Linked DNA regions of Homo sapiens: all the other regions are linked to region 2. Evidence: promoter capture Hi-C in human tissues and cell types (Jung and others, 2019). All regions are on one chromosome and are shown on one strand. The core of a region is centred on a gene start or on the middle of the fragment in contact, and the rest is flanking DNA. Distances in the headings are between cores, read along the strand shown. Region 1 overlaps TLN2 (talin 2). Region 2 holds the start of TLN2 (talin 2). Region 3 overlaps TLN2 (talin 2). Region 4 overlaps TLN2 (talin 2). Region 5 overlaps TLN2 (talin 2).

Evidence for each region. Contacts are between HindIII fragments. The study calls those that stand out against the background at their distance.
Region 1: a fragment that was not itself captured here is called in contact with the fragment with the promoter of TLN2 in region 2 in 4 of the 25 tissues and cell types used here (adrenal gland, aorta, heart right ventricle and 1 more).
Region 3: a contact is called between a fragment that was not itself captured here and the fragment with the promoter of TLN2 in region 2, in 3 of the 25 tissues and cell types used here (IMR-90 fibroblasts, aorta and heart left ventricle).
Region 4: a contact is called between a fragment that was not itself captured here and the fragment with the promoter of TLN2 in region 2, in 1 of the 25 tissues and cell types used here (mesenchymal stem cells).
Region 5: a fragment that was not itself captured here is called in contact with the fragment with the promoter of TLN2 in region 2 in 1 of the 25 tissues and cell types used here (H1 embryonic stem cells).

What each region holds. Positions count from the first base shown.
Region 1 is chr15:62,553,598-62,556,297 of GRCh38, forward strand. The region is part of intron 1 of TLN2 (talin 2); the gene reads left to right. Among named protein-coding and RNA genes, the nearest start is that of MGC15885, 90 kb to the right of the region's middle. The HindIII fragment of the contact is 4,460 bases long and covers 1-2,700 here.
Region 2 is chr15:62,389,260-62,391,959 of GRCh38, forward strand. It overlaps TLN2 (talin 2), which reads left to right and starts at 1,291. Exons shown (of 59, transcript NM_015059.3): 1 at 1,291-1,426. RefSeq lists enhancers at 711-780, 1,699-2,313 and silencers at 947-1,143, 1,191-1,520. The HindIII fragment of the contact is 23,885 bases long and covers 1-2,700 here.
Region 3 is chr15:62,629,822-62,632,521 of GRCh38, forward strand. The region is part of intron 3 of TLN2 (talin 2); the gene reads left to right. Among named protein-coding and RNA genes, the nearest start is that of MGC15885, 14 kb to the right of the region's middle. The HindIII fragment of the contact is 6,002 bases long and covers 1-2,700 here.
Region 4 is chr15:62,579,270-62,581,969 of GRCh38, forward strand. The region is part of intron 1 of TLN2 (talin 2); the gene reads left to right. Among named protein-coding and RNA genes, the nearest start is that of MGC15885, 65 kb to the right of the region's middle. The HindIII fragment of the contact is 7,026 bases long and covers 1-2,700 here.
Region 5 is chr15:62,603,760-62,606,459 of GRCh38, forward strand. The region is part of intron 2 of TLN2 (talin 2); the gene reads left to right. Among named protein-coding and RNA genes, the nearest start is that of MGC15885, 40 kb to the right of the region's middle. The HindIII fragment of the contact is 6,822 bases long and covers 1-2,700 here.

The DNA of each region.
Region 1 (2,700 bases), core at 114-2,613, 160 kb after region 2:
CTTTTCCTCATGAGTGTTAAGAATTTGGTACATGTAATTTTCAGGCCTTTTCAGAAAATGCACATAAAAATAAATGAATTTTTTAAATAAATGCATCTATATTAAATACCCCTAATTTAATATAGAAGGGACTGAATTTTTGCCTATTATGTGCCCTTAGCATTATGCTTTGTTATTGCATATAATTTAGGTGGAAAAATGCTTCCTTATTATTTATAAAATACTTATTAAAATGCTTAAGTTGTCAAGAGAAATTATATAGTGATGCTTCTGTTTAATAGCTGTGGTTTACTTTTTATGCTGTGCAATTAGCTTGGGATGCATATCTTTTAATCTAATCTTTTTTTTTTTTTTTGCCAGTAGCTAGAGCTACAGAACATAACACAGATTCAGTCTTGCAGTTTTATTATTTTCTTTCACTAGACTTGACAGAGGATTTCAAGGACTCAATTTTCAGGTAGATAAGTAGTTAATGACTAGATGCAGTTGGGTAAACATTATCTAGGATCAACCAAGATGCTTAATCTAAATTATTACAACAGTTGTTTCTGGAATGAGTACAATGTGAGGAAAACACTTTAGTGTTAAAGTGATTCTCTAACCCCTGCCCCCCTCACTGTGGCAGGAGAAAAGAGGATATTAAAGCTTGGTTGATGCTCATTCATGTATTTCAGGGAATATAGGGACTATTTAATAGTATGAATAGAATTTCCGTAGATAAAGATTTCCTTGATCTAGTATGAGGAAGTGAGACCTTGTACCAGCTGTTGATACCAGATATAGAATTTTGGTTGAGTTTTAAGCCCTATTTATACCAGAAAGCTGTAGTTTTAACTTAAGATGACTTAGACAATGAAAACGCTACTGGGAAAGAGATACTAAAATGTTCACAGTTTTGACTGACAGAAAAACTCAGGAGAATTGTAGAACTTTGAAATAAGTCAGATAAATCCTTTCTAGGATGATGGGACAGAGAAATTGTAAAGGTTTAGGATTACCTGTTTACTGCTTAGAAAAAAATAAAAAATACACTTTTACCAAGGCCAGTAAGAACTATTTTCTGGAACAAACGGAAAAAGCTGGATAATGCTACTGACTGAGTTAAGGGGATAAGCCACCCAGTACCCAGGCCTCAGTTTCACCTAACAAGGAGACAGGCCTCGAGCATTGTTAAGAGCCATAGGATTCTATTTTCCAGTGAGAGAGTACCACTTACGTGATAACTTTGCACCTCTGTCCCAAATTCAGCACTCTAGCAAGATGCCAGGAGTTCTCCTTGCAGGTGTGGAGAAAACTTAAGGGTCTGGCAGAGATGTAGATTTAGAAAATTCGTGTACACTTGCTTTGCTGTGAAAAATTCACAGAATTTTTGAAGTTTATAAATTCTATTTAGAAAGAAAAAAAAAAACACCCTTCTCACTGGTTAGGAATTAGGAGATTTCTTCCCTGTGATATTCTTAGTTTACTCTTGGGGTGATTTTTGTTTGTTTACTAGTGCAGGTATTCAGATAGTCATCTAAATCCTACAGGCACACCCTTTGAAGTGCGAAGCTTTTCCTGCAGAACATCTATGGGAGAGGCCCTTAGTAGAATGTTTCAAGGAAAAATATTTCAGATAGTTGTCCATGTTCCTTTCTTAATTTTATTCCTAAAAAATAGCAAGCAAACTTTTTTTTACGTTACTAATTTTTCATTTGTGAATATTTATGAAAAGACTCAGTTGAAGTGTTCCTTTATATTAACCTTTTTTTGTCTGAAGATTTTTATTTATAGCATGAATGAATTCTTGCTTGCTCTGAAAGATTTAAACATTGTAGAAAGCTTCAGAGTAAAAGTAATAGATTAGATTGTGTCCCTCCTCAGAAGATCCTTTGTAAATAATGTCACTTTCTTGCTGTCTTTGAACTTTGTTTATGAAATATAGGTTTTAACTGTGGCGTTTGCCACACCTGTGAACTTTTCTTTATGTCTTCTGAGTTTTGTAAATATACTTGATATTCTTTGTCTCTTTTTCTGGTAGTTTTAAAAATATTTATCTGTCTAGTCTACCTAGGATTTGTTCTTGTGTATGATAGCAGTAGAGCTGCAACTTAATTTGTATGTGGATTTTTACTTTTCCCGGTATAATGTGTCAAACAGTTTGCTCTTTTTGTGCCAGTTTTAAATATCTTTATTGTATCCTAAATATCAATGTATTTGCTTTCTATACTCTCCTGTTCTAGTGATAATAGAATATGTCTATTTTCATAATGCTGTCACTCTGTTTTTGTTACTGTAGCTTTGTACTATATTTGATTTTATGAGGATATTTCCTTTCATTATTCTTATTTTTTAAACTTTTTTTTTTTTTTTTTGGTCATCCTAAAGGTTTTTCTCTTCCAGTTGGACTTTAAGATTAGTTTTCTGAGTTGAGATGCTCGTTGACTTAACGTTGACTTAGTTGACTTTACAAACTGAGGAAGAATTGTTGTCTTACAATATTGAGTCTTCTCATCTGGGAAATGGTAGTTCTCTCCATTATTGTATCTTTTTGGTTTTTTTTAATGTCATGTAGTAAAATTTAAAATAAGATTGGTTTGGCATATATATGGGTAGGTTTATTTCTTAGGAGTTTTTTTTTTCCTTTCCCCTCCTACCCTTCTTTCTATTCCTATTTGCTATTATGAGTAGAATTTTTTTAAATGCCATTTTCTTTTTTTT
Region 2 (2,700 bases), core at 41-2,540:
TCCGGTTTATGGTGACAGCAGTTTCTTTCTCTGAGAAACACTAAAAAGTTGCCAGCAGTTCCATTTGAGTAACTGAATAGATTTGCTACCTATTTCCTGGTCCATTCTGTATTGGGATGGAAATAATGTCGTCTTTCCTTTTTTTTTTCTTTTTTGAGACAGAGTCCCGCTCTGTCATCCAGGCTGGAGTGCAGTGGTAGGATCACCGCTCATGCAGCCCCCGAGCTCCCGGGCTCAAGCGATCCTCCCACCATTCTCCCCAGTAACTGGGACTACAGGCATGCGCCCCCACACCCGGCTGATTTTTAATTTTTTTTGTAGAGATAAGGTCTCGCTATATTGCCCAGGCCGATCTTAAACTCCTTGGGCTTGAGATCTTCCTGCTTTGGCCTCCCAAAGTACTAGGAGTAAAGGGGTCATGGCTAATTCTTGTTTTTTTAAATTACTAATGTGTCCCTTACAGATAAATAAAAAAGTAAAATTACTCACAATTCCACCAATCACTGAGAGACTTATTGGTGTTTATCTATCCAGTCTTTTCTGCCTTTCTCCATAAATCACAGTTTTTAAAAACGGGACCATACGGTACATAGTGTTTTGTCTCCTCACCCCCTTGAATAACCTTCACATTGTTCCATGGTATTTACAGTATTTACTAATAATGACTGTAAATGTAAGAGGTATATAACTGACTTTATTCAGGGCATGGCAAGCAGGAGTGAATTATTTTCTTCTTATCAACACAGCACGCCCCTACCGCCACTCATCCCTATAGTCGTTCTCTAAATACCTAAGTGACACCTGACCAGCAAGGTTTCAGGGTCCTTGTGCTGAAAGGAGCAGGCTCGCCTGGGGTCACGGCCCTCCGCTTCGCAGCAAGACCCCACCGCCCACCACGGCCCTCCAGTTAGCCACAGCTCGCTTCCCCCAGGACCGGGCCAGAGGTCCCGAGAGGGCACTCTGCGGACCTAGGGGCCCCAGCCTACAAGACGCTGTGTCCTGCAGTCATCCCCTTTACACAGCAGAGCCCCAATTCTGGGAAGCCGGGGTCACCCCGAGCCTCCCTTCCCCGTGACAGCTCGGCCGGTGCATCACCTTCCCTCGCGGACCCTTTCAGCATCACCACGCGTGGGAGGAAACCCAGGACGGGCGCCTGAGCCTCGGTGGCGGCCCACCCCGGTGCCGCGCGGCGCCGCGGCCGGACCGGCGCCGCGCCGTCCCCGAATGATGACGCGCTTCCTGCCCTCCCAGCGCTCTCGGGCAGTGCGCTCGCGCTCGCCCTCGGCTCTTGTTCCGCGCCCGGAGCCAGCGGCGGCGGCAGCGGCTGAGGCGGCTGCGGGAGCGGAGTGGTCGCCCAGCGCGCGGGGGGACGCGGGCTGCACTCCCGGGCAGGCGCTCTGCAATGAGACAGTAAATGCATCCCCCGGTAAGGCGCACGGCTCACTCGGGTTTTCCTCTTCCTCCAGCTGCATGCACGTTGCATGAATTTCTCGTGTCTTTTCCCTCCCCTCTCCAGAAGGAAAATGTGGGGTTTTTTTTCCTCCCTTTTGCTTCTCGTGAGTGATGCCAATGCAGGAAAAACCCGTAAAGCTCCCAGATTTGATGGTCTAGGAGGGCTTCTTGCAGGAAAATAAAAATAAAATGAAATTAATGCACCTGTCTATTGCACATGTATGTTTCACTGCACCGGACCCGGGCGCAGCGGTTTGCAAACAGCCTCGCAGTCGGCGCCAGAGAGCGGATTCCTGGCCGTGGGCAGCCGGTCCCCTCCGGGGCTCTCGCTGGGTTTCCGGTAACTGGGCTTTGAAAAGCGGCCCCGCCTGCATAGAGTGTCCCCTCGACCCCAGCCGGGCCCCCGCGCCAGAAGAGTTGGCGCTGGAGGAGCAGCTTCATTCCAGCACTGGCCGCCGGGACTCCAGCGCCACTTTGCAAACAAGTCTCCCGCCGAGGCTCTGGGCTAAGACAGCCCGCCAGTGCGGAGTTCCTTCTCCGGTGCCGGACACTCAGACCTGCCGATCCCACGACTGCCCTTTACTTGGCAATCTCGCCACGGGCGAACTGCTGGCCGCTGAGCGACGGGGGCAGTGCCGGGCCGAGAGCGGGGCCAGGCTTTGCATCCAGTGCGGCTGGCCTCACACAGACTCAGCGGCTCCCTCTCCTTCCTCGGTCCCACGAGCTGAAATTTTGCGCCCATTGGAAGCTGGAGGGACCTGGAGACGAGTATTTCGGGATCCCTGAGGGGACCGAGGAACGACTTTCGAGGGCGCCATATTTTCAGTGGGTCTTGACTGCGGAGGGGAGGGGGCGAGCAGTTTCTGGGTCCCGGGGAGAGCCCCGCGCCCCAGTCGGAGAGGCCTGATCGGTTGTCGCCGGGAAAGTTTGCGCGCCGAGGCAGGCGCGGAGGCGGCCGCACAAGGCGCGCACGACTGCTGTCCCCGCAAGGGCGCGCGGACTACAGCGCGTCGCCACGCCAGCCGGCGGGGCTTGGGAACGAGAGCCGCCGTCACGGACAGCGTGCTGGGCTTGCCGCCTTCCTCTGTCCCGCCTGGACCCGGCCTTGGGGCTCCGAGGCTCAGGGAACACGCCCCTCTTCCCCGCAGCTACCGCTGCCCGGGTGCTCAGCCGGAGCCGTGCGCTGGGCGGCGTCCCGGGGCTGGGCGCCGAGTGTAGAGCGTTCTCCCGGTGCCCGGGCTCGCCTGG
Region 3 (2,700 bases), core at 75-2,574, 240 kb after region 2:
AAGTAGGGTAAAGCCCCAGGCAGCAGTTAAAATTGAGAGTCCTAATACATTGAAGCTTTGTGAAAATCCCTTAGAAAATACATGAGCATTTTAAAGGTAATTGAGGGCACCATAGATCATTTTAACATCCTTTTCCCATTGTTCTTAATCTAGAGAATCTCTTCTATGTCTTTAAAGTCAGGAAATTATCTTTTTTTGTTTCTTTGGTGGGGTTATTTTCAGTTGTGTCGTGTATATAACGAGCTGCCAGAATGATCATTAGTAACACTGTAAAATCACATCTACTGTCACAGGTAGCCTTTCTGTAACTATTGGAAAAACTGGAAATATGGCACCAACTAATCATCATTTTTGCTTATTAGTAGGTTGACTATCACTTGGAAAGAGGACAGGTCATTTAGGTAAAGCCAGATTTTAGGTATCAGAAGAGAGATCCAGAAAACAGACTTGGGTTTTAGACTAGATGACTTCTAAGGTACTTACCTTCCTTAAAAGTTGTCTAGGCTAAAACCCGGTGAGAAAGTTGAGGAGGGCCACTCAGACATTTTTGGTGCTGAATGAGGACTTGACTCCCTGATATTTTTGCTTTTAAATACATCCCACTCTGTTCCCACTGGCCCTGCGGTCATACTGGTGGGACTTAGCCCTAAGAGAGCACATAACTCAGAGGAGGAGAAGTGCCACAGACGTCGGGATCTCATCACAGAGGAAGGTCTGTGAGCAGCCATTCTCCAGCAGTCCGAGGCCAGGTTTGTTTTGACATTGATTTTTTTTATTTCTGTTACTGCTCTCTGGAGGTATATCACAACAAGATTTAATGAATGTTTTTTGGTCTGCGTTTATTTGATGCATGACCTGGTGATTTGAGTTCCACCGTTACCTTTTTTTTTTGGCTTTCTGATTATGTACCACATAACTAAATCAATAAAGAAGAGAATGGAGAAACAGCTCTGTTTAACATTTCAGGGGTGATGGAGTAATGCTGTCTATAAATATTTATATTTTTCTGAGAAGATGTCTTTTTCTTTTTGACATTCAGACGAGTTCACCAAGAGATTCATCACTAAAGAGAGGGGGAGGAGTGTGAAGGGGGAATGAAAAGACATCTTCCCCCCAGTAAATTTCTAGATGTCTTTCGAAAGATAAATAGAAAAGAAAACTTAAAAGATTTTTTCATTTGAATAAGCCATTTTTTTTTCTAAGGCATTGAAATGCTTAGCTAGCCTTTTCTCACCCAGGATAGTAACAATCAGGGGAATATGGATATATAACCAAAGGATCCCCAAAAGCAAAATAGACTCTGTTGGCTTGCAGCTTCCTATGAGTTCCGCAGCTTCTCATACCTCCCAGGTTGCAGTCTCTCTCTCTCCTTTCTGCCTCCTCTCCTTGTCTTGACTTCAGCCTTGTCAGAGCCAAATCACTTCCTAAAGGCCCCACCTCTTAATACTGTTGTATTGGGGATTAAGTTTCAACATGAATTTTGGAGAAGACACATGCAAACCGTAATAGAGGAAGCTTGCTCAGTGGATTCCTAAGTCAAGATGCCTTCTCTTCTCTAGCACAAATAATCACTCATCCATTATTTTTTCAGGTTTGATAGTTTTCTTCCTTTCTTCCTTTCTTCCTTCCTTTCTCTTTCTTTCTCTCTCTCTTCCTCTTTTCTTTCTTTCTTTCTTCCTCTTTTCTTTCTTTCTTTCTTCCTTTCCTTTCCTTTCCTTTCCTTTCCATTCCTTTCCTTTCCTTTCCTTTCCTTTCTTTCTCTCTCTTCTTTCACTCTCTCTCTCTCCCTCTCCCTTCCCTCCTCCCTCCCTTTCTTTCTCTTTCTTTCCTTCTTTTTCTTTCTTTCTCTTTCCTCCTCTCTTTCTGTCTTTCTTTCTTTCTCTCCCTCCCTCCCTCCCTCCTCCCGCTTTTTCTTCTTTCTCTCTTTTCTTTTTGTTTTTTGGTATAGACGGGGTCTCCCTATGTTTCCCAAGCTGTTGAATTCCTGGGCTCAAACCATCCTCGTGCCTTGGCTTCCCAAAGTGCTGGGATTATGGGCATGAGCCACCATGCCCGGCCTTGATAGTTTTATAGTGAGGTATTTTTTAATAGTCTCCTCTCTATAGATGATGATAAAATCTGTCAACCTCAGTTTCATCAGGAGCTGTGGTGATGTGCGAGCCCACAAGGATCACAGTAGGTACAGCCATTGGACCACCGGTAAGAGAGTGGCTCCAAAGTCTCTGTGGGCACTAGTTAGAAGTTATGTGTGCTCCCCCCGAATCTTTCATACAAACTTATTGTCACAGCTTTCTAGACAGCCCCAGCGCCTGCTTAGAGGCAGTCAATGATAATAAGTAGTTAACGGAGTACATAGTCTCATTCTGGGGACTAGTGCCCCTGTGGGGCGTGGCATTAAAGTTGAGCAGCTCTTGCTTGTGCTGGAGGCCATTTCTGTTCTGACTAAATCTCACCTGCTTAGGTCTTGTCTGGAAAGGTCGAGAAGGCCCCAGAATAATCTTGGAGCCCTTCAGGAACCTCAAGGACTCCTAACGACCTGAACCCTTAGAGGTGTGACTTCATCCTCGAATCACTTAGATGTTGGAAGGACTTTAGTGATCAGAGTGACCTAGGCTCTTATTCCAGACTTGTCACCCTGTACTGCTTGCTACTGTCCTCCCCGAGCCCTGTGGAAGCTCTTGGAGGGCAAGGCAGGACTCC
Region 4 (2,700 bases), core at 62-2,561, 190 kb after region 2:
TATGAAAACCAGCCTTCACATGGTAAGAGAGAGCAGCATAGAAAAATCACTTGGGAAAGATGAATTTTGAGGGTTACAATAACTGCTAATCAGGGCCAAGTGGTGACAGGTTCTTATTTATGGAAAGTGAGTATTCCTGATTTCCGCATTATGTATACCTGAGTATCTAATTCGGTCTTGATTAGCAGAATCCTCTCAAATGACCTCGTGTTCTTGTTTGTGATACTTATCTTAGGTTGCTGGGGGCTGAGAAGACTCACAGTACACTTTGATTGTTTCTTCCTGTTGCATTTATGCTGTGGTGTGTTGGCTCACGGCATCAGGCAGCCAGGCTTTGCAGGCTGGAGGATGGAGCCAGTGTGAGTATTCATAGGAACGTGTCCCCTGAAGAGGATGCCCCTCCTTCTCCTAGCTACAGACCCGAGATACTTCATTACAGATGACAGAGTTTCCACTGGCAAGGAAACTCAGGTGAGATTCACCACTTGAGGAAGTCACATTCTCTCTCTGCATGTCCTTCAGCTGGATTGTGTCACTGTAGAAGCAGTTGCTGAGGTTACGAGCATGTAGGAATAGTCCTCGAGCTAATGGTCAGGGTGGCAGTGAGAATAAAAATGGAGGAGCATGCACCTTCCCAGGGTCAGTTCTAGCAGCGTGGAGCCTTGTGTGTGCAGCACCTGTTCAACCCGAGTGCTCTGATACAGTCAAAGGATCTCTACCTGGCCAGGAGGATCCCAGATCCTCCATCGCTGCTTCCCCAGGCCAAGCCAACATGTGTCACTCTACACCTCTCCCAGGCCCTGGCCTGCAGTGGGGAGATCTCCCACAGGGAGTTCCTTGGCTTCAGTGCCTGGGTGGCATCTGCAGCACCACACCTCTTTCTCTCTGTATTTTAAAAAATATTTTGTTTATTTTTAACAGGTTTTATTTCTTCGGAGCAGTTTTGGGTTTACAACAAAATTGAGTGGGAAGTACAGAGAGTTCCTTTATATCTACTGTACCCATAGCTTCCCCATTACCAACATCCCATGCTAGGGTGGTACATTTGTTATAGTTGATGAACCTATATTGACAAATCATTACCACCTAAAGACCATAGTTTACCTTAGAGTTTCTCTCTTCTCCCCTCTCTACCTCCCTCCCTCCCTCCCTCCCTTCCTTCCCATTGTCTTGCTCTGTTGCTCAGGCTGGAGTACAGTGGCGAGATCTAGGCACAGTGCAGCCTTGACCTCCCAGGCTCAGGCAATCCTCCTACCTCAGCCTCGCGAGTAGCCGGTACTATAGGCGCATACCACCACACCCAGCTAATTTTTGTATTTTTTGTAGAGATGGGGTTTTGCCATGTTGCCCAGGCTAGTCTCTAACTCCTGAGTTCAAGTGATCTACCTATCTTCGCCTCCCAAAGTGCTGGGATTATAGGCATGCACCACTGCACCTGGCTAGGGTTTATTCTTGGTGTTGCACGTTCTTTTGATTTGGAAAAATGTAGAATGATACACATCCACCTTTATAGTATCATGCAAAGTAGTTTCACTGCCCAAAAAATCCTCAGTGCTGCTTATTTTTTCCTGCCTTCGCCCCGCCCCCTGACCCCTGGCAACCACTGATTTTTTTTTTTTTTTTTTCTTTTTGAGACAGAGTTTCGGTCTTGTTGCCTAGGCTGGAGTGCAATGACAGGATCTCGGCTCTCAGCAACTTCCGCCTCCCAGGTCCAAGTGATTCTCCTGCCTCAGCTTCCCAGGTAGCTGGGATTACAGGCGCCCACCACCATGCCCGGCTAATTTTTGTATATTTAGTAGAGATGGGGTTTCACCATGTTGGCCCGGATGGTCTCCTAACACCTCAAGTGATCCGCCTGCCTTGGCCTCCTAAAGTGCCATGATTACAGGTGTGAGACACCGCGCCCGGCCCAACCAGTGATCTTTTTACTGTCTCCCTAGTGTTGCCTCTTCCAGAATGTCATCGAGTTGGAATTGTATAGTATGTAGCCTTTTCAGATTGGCTTCTTCTGTTAGTAATGTGGATTTAATTTCCTCCATGTCTTTTCATGACTTGATAGCGCTTTTCTTTTTAGCACTGAATAGTATTCTATTGTGTACATGTACCTTCTTGCTCTTTTTACTGGAACCTCTCATTCTGTTTTCCCAAAAGAAAAACTCAAGTAGTTGATGAATAACACTTACCTATGGTGTTCATCAGGTTCTACTGTTGGTATTCTTTGTGGCTTTGTGCTCTTTTAAAGGGTCCAAGTTGGAATGAAAGAGAATAAGAGCACGTTTGTGCTCTTAGGGTTCAGGGATGAGGGAATAGTGTACAGAGGGGAATCTTTTTGTTTCATTCTCCAATTGTTATACCGTGAAAGCCTTTGTTTGCTTTGGAGGTGGGAAGGAAGGCATAAATGTAAAATAGTGTATTTCCCTAGTTGACAACAGACCAAAGAGTCGAGAAGTTTATTCACAGACCCCAGGTTTGTAGCAAAAGAGTGAATAGTGGGCCGGGTGCGGTGGCTCACACCTGTAATCCCAGCACTTTGGGAGGCCGAGGCAGGCAGATCACCTGAGATTAGGAGTTCCAGACCAGCCTGGTCAACATGGCAAAACCCTGTCTCTACTAAAAATACAAAAATTAGCCGGGCGTAGTGGTATGAGTCTGTAGTCCCAGCTACCCAGGAGGCTGAGGCAGGAGAATCGTTTGAACCTG
Region 5 (2,700 bases), core at 99-2,598, 210 kb after region 2:
ACATTTCGGTGGAATCTGTGTTATGTCTTCAAGTAGCAGTAAATAAGGTTTATAGGAAGGTCTGTTAGATATTTTGATGACCTGTATTGCTAGGCCAAAGGCTATGGATTTTGCAATGTAGGCCAGAAGTTAGCAATCTTTTCTGGCAAAGGACTCAACTACAAATATTTGAGGCTACTGCCTATGTTGCAGCTATTCAACTCTGCTGTTGGCACACAGAAAGCAGGCATAGACAAGTCATAAATGGGTGTGGCTGTGTTCCAATGAAACTTGATTTATGGACACTGAAATCTGAATGTCATATAATTTCTATGTATCATGAAATATAATTCATTTGGTTTTTTTCCTTAACCCTTTAAAATTATAAAAACCATTCTTAGCTTTTGAGCCATAGTTTGTCAACCTGTGCTCTAGGCATTCGGGAGCCATAGAAAATTCTTGCACATATGAGGGAGCTGCTCAAAAGGGTTGTCAAGGCGGGGCATGGTGGCTCTCAACTGTAATTCAGCACTGTGGGAAGCTGAGGTGGGAGGATTACTTGAGCCTAGGAGTTCGAGACCATCCTAGGCAACAAAGTGAAACCCCATTTCTTAAAAACAAAAACAAACAAAAAATACCACACACAAATTAGCTGGGGGTAGTGGGTAGTGACATGCACCTCCCGTCCCAGCCACTTGGGAGACTGAGGTAGAAGATTTGATGGTGCAGTGAGCCATGATTGAGTCACTGCACTCCAGCCTGGGTGACAAAGTGAGACCTTGTCTTAAAAAAAAAAAAAAAAAAAAAAGAAAAGGGTGGGGGGCGATTGTCAACAGTATATTAAAGAGAGCTTCATAAGAGAGAGGGAGCCCAGGTTCAGGAGGGTGTTGGTGGTTGCAGTGTGTAGTTGGAAGGAGGCCGTGGGAGTGGAAAGTGGATTTCTTCTCTTCGTCTTCTTTTTTTTTTTTTTTTAATTATTTGAGATTATGGAACTATTAGGAAGCATGGAGCTCATATTATGCGATAAGGGATTTATATTAATCTCTCAAAGCTGTGTTCTCTGATTTTCCATAGATTATACACAGACGCAAGCCTACCATCCTGTAGCGTGTGGACCTAGGGCAAAATTTTCTCATTATTTGCCGCTGCCGCCGCCTCCTCCTCCTCCTCCTCCTTTCCCCCATTAAGAAACCCAAGACTGAGCCCCATCATAGGTGAACTTTTTGTATCAGCTGTCTTGTATGTCTTGTTTCTTACTACATTTGCAGGCTAACTGTTGAAAAAACAGTATTTTGTTTGTGGGAAGAAAATCAAAGGTGATGTAAATGAAAAGTGCATTTTCATATAATGGAAATTATTAGAGGAACTTTTAAAATGTCACTGCAGATTAATGCAGACAAGGAGCTGAATATATTAGAAAGTAGGTCAAATTTTCTCATGTTTATGAATGAGGTGAATTACAGTGTAGGTTTAAGTTTATAAAATTGGGCAATACTATAGTTTATATGAAATATCCTAGCCTAAATGCTATTATACTAAAATATAATTAAAATAAATTGAGTTTGTTTCCTTATCCTTTGTGTCTGAGTATTTTATACGTAACATTTTACAAATTTAATAAACTAGTAAAAGCGATGAGCTTCTTGTTGTTATTCACATTTCCTGTATTGGACACAGAATCTACTCTAGGGAATTAAAGCTGGAGTCGATTTAATCCATGGGCAAGCGAATCAGGAATCCTTGGCAGTTTGGGAGGAACAGGCTCTGGGCTGAGCTTCCAGTCTACTCCCTATCCCCAGCACCATCTTTTCCTACCAGAACCAGGGAAGTTAGGCTGTGGCTGCTGCTATGAGAGGCTGTTGAATTGAGAATCCGGTACTTGACCTGCCAGCTCAGAACACACGCCTCCTCCATGGGGAGATCTTGCTTCTTGTGGATAACCGTGTGCTCTGCTTTTCTTCCTTGTGACTCGGTTGAACACCAGAGTCACCTATAAGCCCATGTCATTGGTGTATCTAAGTCACGTTGGACACCGTAGCAGCAAAGAGATCTGGGCAATCAATATATGATGTTTAGACCTGCAGCCTCCCCAAGCTGCAAGCGAACTACCCTTCCCATCTTCACGAAATGTCTCTTCAGATGTGCCTGGTACCACAATCAGGGGCAGAAGGGCAGTCTGTCAGAATTTCCCTTCTTTAGATACATTTCATGTGATACATTTTGATAGACTTGTCTAGAGGTAGTAGTGTTACACCAGTGTCACTAGTTAAGTAGTGTTAGTCGATAGTGCTAGTGATGACTGATAGAACTTAATAAGAAGACAGTGTTTACCATTTCAAAAAGATTTTTTTTTTGTTTTTTGAGACGGAGTCTCACTCTGTCGCCCAGGCTGGAGTGCAGTGGTGTAATCTCAGCTCACTGCAACCTCCGCCTCCCAGGTTCAAGCAATTTTCCTGCCTCAGCCTCCCATGCAGCTGGGACTATAGGCACCCACCACCATGCTTGGCTAATTTTTTTTTTTTTTTGTATTTTTAGTAGAGACAGGGTTTCCCCTGTTGGTCAGGCTGGTCTCGAATTCCTGACCTCAGGCGATCCACCCACCTCAGCCTCCCAAAGCGCTGGGATTACAGGCGTGAACCACCACGCCTGGCCCCAAAAGATATTTTTTTTAGGTTGAAATTATTGTAAATAATACCAGGAAAGGAATGCCTGTGGTTTAAC